Regions from separate parts of the Homo sapiens genome. Here region 2 is linked to region 1. Evidence: promoter capture Hi-C in human tissues and cell types (Jung and others, 2019). All regions are on one chromosome and are shown on one strand. Each heading gives the region's core, a stretch centred on a gene start or on the middle of the fragment in contact. The rest is flanking DNA. Distances are from core to core; before and after follow the strand shown.

The links. The method cuts DNA at HindIII sites, captures the fragments that hold promoters and counts their contacts. A contact is called where the count stands out against the background at its distance.
Region 2: a fragment that was not itself captured here is called in contact with the fragment with the promoter of FKBP1C in region 1 in 1 of the 25 tissues and cell types used here (lymphoblastoid cells).

Annotation. Positions count from the first base shown.
Region 1 is chr6:63,210,080-63,212,858 of GRCh38, reverse strand. It overlaps FKBP1C (FKBP prolyl isomerase family member 1C), which reads right to left and starts at 1,390. Exons shown (of 1, transcript NM_001395980.1): 1 at 1-1,390. The coding sequence starts at 1,302. The coding sequence ends at 976. The HindIII fragment of the contact is 10,095 bases long and covers 1-2,779 here.
Region 2 is chr6:62,084,901-62,087,679 of GRCh38, reverse strand. The region is part of intron 2 of KHDRBS2 (KH RNA binding domain containing, signal transduction associated 2); the gene reads left to right. Among named protein-coding and RNA genes, the nearest start is that of KHDRBS2, 200 kb to the left of the region's middle. The HindIII fragment of the contact is 3,533 bases long and covers 1-2,779 here.

The DNA of each region.
Region 1 (2,779 bases), core at 141-2,640:
TCAGCAGAGGGAGCCAAGCATCAAAAAACAGGAGATGCTGAAGCTGGGATGACCAGCATCATTTTCTTAAGAGAACATTCAAGGATTTGTCATGATGGCTGGGCTTTCACTGGGTGTTAAGTCTACAAACAGCACCTTCAATTGAAACTGTCAATTAAAGTTCTTAAGATTTAGGAAGTGGTGGAGCTTGGAAAGTTATGAGATTACAAAATTCCTGAAAGTCCGTTAGAAAAACCACAGGATGAAAAAAAAAAAAAAAAAAATAAGGCCACAAAGAAGGCTTCAGAGGTCCCTGCTGGCCCAGGGACAGATACCTGTAGTGTCCAGCATCGCAGTGAACATGACCTGCTTTCAAAGGCAGAGGGTTTAAGGGGAGGGTGGGGTGGGAATGGTGGAGGCAAAGCCTCTCCCCATCCCCACCTCAGTTTTAGGTAGGGCTTTTAATTTAACCCAAGGACATCTCTCAACTTGGAGAATAATTCAGTCCTCAACAGTGCCTCAAATCTGCTATGGTTTTGCAGCGCAGCAGCAAGAATGTTTAATATATAATAGATAAAAATTTCATCCAAAAAATTAAAATAAAATATTCTTGCAACCCCCTCAACACCAATTCCTATCCTAACGTTAACTTATCACTTGTGCTGTTAACACTTGACCATGTACTTAATTGGAAACCTATATTCAAAAGACTGAAACTGAATCTTCACCCCAAAATGAAAAAGTAAAATGAATAACTTGACGTTTATGGCATATAGTTTAGGTAAACGCACATACCAGGAGAAAGGGGAAGAGGAAACAGAGGTGTCGGAAGCAAAGCTGAGTGACAGAACACATTCAGTTGGGGCAGATGTCTATACAAAGTGGAGTGGAACATCAGGAAAAGCTCCATATGGATTTATGTGCACACGTCTGGAGGCACCAGATCCCTCCATGGCAGATCCAAGAACAGGGAGCTAAGGGAGGAGGCCATTCCTGTCATTCCAGTTTTAGAAGCTCCACATCGAAGACGAGAGTGGCATGTGGTGGGATGATGCCTGGGTGCCCAGTGGCACCATAGGCATAATCTGGAGATATAGTCAGTTTGGCTCTCTGACCCACACTCATCTGGACAACCCCTTCTTCCCAGCCTCGGATCACCTCCTGCTTGCCTAGCATAAACTTAAAGGGCTTGTTTCTGTCCCGGGAGGAATCAAATTTCTTTCCATCTTCAAGCATCCCGGTGTAGTGCATCACGCAGGTCTGGCTGCGCTTCGGGAAGGTGCGCCAGTCTCCTGGGGAGATGGTTTCCACGTGCACTCCCATGGCGGCGGCCGACGCCGAGCGGGCGGGCAGCGCGACGGGCGGCGTGGACCGACAGCGACCTGGCGGCGGTTCCACGGCTCTGCCTAGTCCCTCAGCGCGTTGCCTGCCCATACTGTATTTTTAAAATCTACAAATTCTATATTAGTGCCTTCTGGGCAAGTGTGTTGAATGAGTCACTTAAAAATCTCTAAATAGGTTTTTTTTTTTTTTTCCCGTACTGGAAGTGTTACCATTTCCTTGTTAACTTTGTTAACTTTGTGTTTGGTCTCCCATTATCTGTGGCGGCTACGTTCCAAGATCCCCAGTGGGTGCCTGAAACCACAGAACCACAGATAGTACAGAACCCTATATATACTATATTTTTTCCTGTACATACATACCTATGATAAAATTTAATTTATAAATTAGGCACAGCAAGAGACTAAAAACAATGACTAATAATAAAATAGAACAGTTATAACAATATAAAAGCATCATTACTCTTGCACTTTGAGGCCATTATGAAGTAAAATAAGGGGTACATATTAAACACAAGCTCTGAGCTACCTTACAATTGATCTGATAACCAAGACAGCTACTGAGTGACTAACAGACAGGGAGGGTATACAGTGTGGAGATGGTGGACAATGGGATAATTCACGTCTCAGTCAGGTGAGAGTGGAACGGGATGGCTCGAGATTTCTTCACACTACTCAGAATGGTGTGCAATTTAAAACTTATGAATTGTTTATTTCTGAAGCTTTCAATTTAATATTTGCAGACCACTATTGACCATGGGTAACTGAAACTGCAGAAAGCAAAACTGTGGATAAGGGATACTATTGTATATATCTGGAGTTTGATTTAAAGGTCTAAAACAGATCTCTAAAACTTTTGCTCAAATGAATTAACTGTTGTCCATCTAAATAGTATGCTACGATTAGCGTAGCCACTATTGTCAGGTTTCTGCCAGAAGTATCAGTGTAGAGAGATATTTTAAAGAAAAAAGGAAGGATGTATATATTTGAAAGTTGTCCAGTACTTTGCATATAAACTCACAGTTATATTTTTCTTTCTGTGTGTTCTATTATGTTCATGTTAACTTAGAAAGAAATATGCTTTGAGTCTGGTTTACAAAGAACGATATAGATTCAGTAGTCTAAACTTAATGATTTACATACAGCTTTTTTAGTGATAGAAAACACTAGGTAAGTTAAGAAAGTTTAAGAGAAGCTGCTATTGTTCTTGAAAGCATGTATATTTAACTCTTTCTATGTGAAAAGAATGTTTTTGCATTCTTTGTTGCTGTAGATGTTATGTGTATATACCTTTTACTTTTGTAATTTTTAAAAAACAGTGGAATTATAAATTTCTTATCAACTTGTCTTTAGGTTAAATACATTTAGTGTAGCCTCTGCTTGCCATTAGGGCTAAGAACCTAACTACATTTGAAATAGAACCATAGTCGACTTACACTGCAAAAATTTTTTATTAGAAT
Region 2 (2,779 bases), core at 89-2,588, 1.1 Mb after region 1:
GCAACCTCAAGACACATAATGATCAGATTCACCAAGCTTGAAATAAAGGAAAAAATGTTAAGGGCAACTAGAGAGAAAGGTCGGGTTTGTTTTCTTCTCAGGGAACCATCTCATCCTATTTGGAAATATTTTACTCACCTTCAGTATTTCACTTTCTGTTAAATTTTATTTAATATCTTTTTTTATTTCTTTTTGGCCTTTAAATTTTCATTTCTATCTTTTATTTTTCATAATTTTTATTTTTGTGTCTTCTAAATTAGTCTAAATTTATGAAATTGTCTTTTTATTTCTAATCTTTGCCTTAGTTTTAAAATCTAATTTTTTAGATCCTAAAACATTATTCTTCCTAATTCTGATTTATCTTTAACTCCAATATAATTTTCTTAATGTCTTTTAGGTTGTTTAGAATCGTGAAAAACAGTTTTCTTGTATTTTATGACCATATCCTTCTGGTATGCTTTCATTGTTTGTGGAATGTTATATGGATCAATATTCTCTTTTTAAGTTATAATAACTGCATGAGACTGGATTTGATCCTTTTCTTTTGCTCATTTTCATGTGAACTTATATTTTTCTGAATCTTCTAGAAAGAGACAAGGTTCATACATGTCTTATAAATTTACATAGTTCCTTCTTTTGTTGTTTTTGTATTGAGTTAAACAATATAGTGGATTGCTTTTGTCATTTCCTGGCTCTCATCCCTTTTCTCACCTATATCTTTTCCTTTTTTTTTTTTCAGTTATTGCACTGTTCTGCTCCAATTTTGACTTTACTCTTGGTAATTTTTGCTCAGTATGATGAAATGGATCCCTGCCTGTCAATTTGGAGAGGGTATAGTGGCTGCATTGCTCTTTAGAACTTACAGTGGGTGCCTTGTACCCACCTGCTACTGTGTTCAGAAAAACTCCTCTCATGTTCAACTGCTGATCTCAAATTGGCCCACTACATTTTCCAGTGAATACAATTTAATGATTTTGGGATTCTCCTATTCTCAGCTTTGTCAGACAACTTGCTTCTCTCTCCTTTATCCTGAACAGATGCTAATAAAAGACAGATTACCATCATTTATGTTGTGTGGTTCAAGGGGAATCCTTGTCACCTCGTTTTGTTATGGATTTGCTATCCAGTTGCTCAGTTTGTATTTATGAGAGCATTCCAGGAGATTTCAACACTATGCCACCACCACTGCCTCCACTTTCACAATATTCTCAGATTTCTTATATCTAAAAACCAAATTTCTAAATTTCCACTATACATTCTCTATAATTTTGCATCTCCCACTGTCTTGCTTAATTAAATATTTTTTATAGCTATCAAAGCTTCAAGTCTTTCTACCCCTTCCTGTTTTTTCAGCCTTTGAGTCATTTGCTATTCAGACAGAATCCTGGGATTAATCAATCACTTTGAAGTACTCAGTAGTGCTGTCATTTCCCTAGTCTTCTTTTCCTTTTTCAAAACAATTCCTGTCAAAGTCCCATTATATTTTAAGCTAAATTTCATGCTTCTTTACCCTTATATATATCTATCAAGCGTCACTGAAAATTGGCAAATGGAATTGCCAGACACAATTATACATAATTTCCAAACTCTTTCAAACATCCAGTTGAATTGTTGATGTACGTTGGTAATTCTTTTGTTTGTTTCCACTTAGCACCCTTTCAGATTCTCCATAGCAAATTCTCAGTCATCACCAGTCTTCAGAAGCCCTTCAGCCACTCCTCTTAACTATTAGCAGATCACATATTTTGCTAATTCCCAAAGGAAATCCACTTTGTCAGATACTCTTTTTCCCAATCTTAACCCTAACTTTATTCAAGTAAATTATTTTTCCCTCCCATCACTGTCTTTCAGTGCCCCTTTTTCATGAATTTTCAACATGTAACAACATTCTATGATTCTGCAGTCTTCTAATTAACCCTAACCCTAACTCTAACCTTAATGCTTATTTTATATTTATTTGTCAATACATTGCTAAAGACCTTTGCCTTTCATTATTCTGGTAAAAATACATTCCTCAGTACTTCTGCTAATTTCCTAAGAGCTAAGATTCATGGACTTGGTTTCTCAGCAGCATTTTGTTTGTGCTTAATATAACACGTCATTTATACATTAAACTCTTGACTTCTAGAGATGCAGTCATTTTTGTGGCATATTAAAGACCTTGGATTTTCTGTAATATGTTTTCCTGTTGCCTTTTCCTTTTTTTTCTGAAACTCACTTTGCTTCTTTAACACTAATCTTTCCTATTCTTCTCAGTTACCTTTGATGATAATTTTCCACTGCTTTCACCACCCTCCATATTTTAATGATTCTCAGCCTTATTTCCTATGCTTTTTATATCTCACTCCACATATTTTTCATGGTTTAGCCATTGCATTTATGCCTTCTTTTCAATCCACATTCTCCATTGCCTTAATTCAGAATTTCATCTAACCTTGCCAACAGTTTCATCTAGCTAGCTTCACCATGTTTTGTGTCTCAAATAAATAATGTAAATATTTCTTAAGCATCCTAATATTCTTAATATCTCAAATATAATCAGTTCTTAATATCAGAATGAGTAGGTGCTAAATAGCACTCCTTTAGAATTCTAATAGAGTAATATTTAAAATGTGATTTCTTGGAAATTTACTATTGTGCAGATAATTTTATGGTGCCATTTTATTGTTAGATGTTTCAGTTTTGCCTGCACACATTTAAGTGTTTTGTTAGAATTATTTTTGTGGACACTAATATTCATTTACATGTGCCATAAGAATTCAGAATTCACTAAATCACT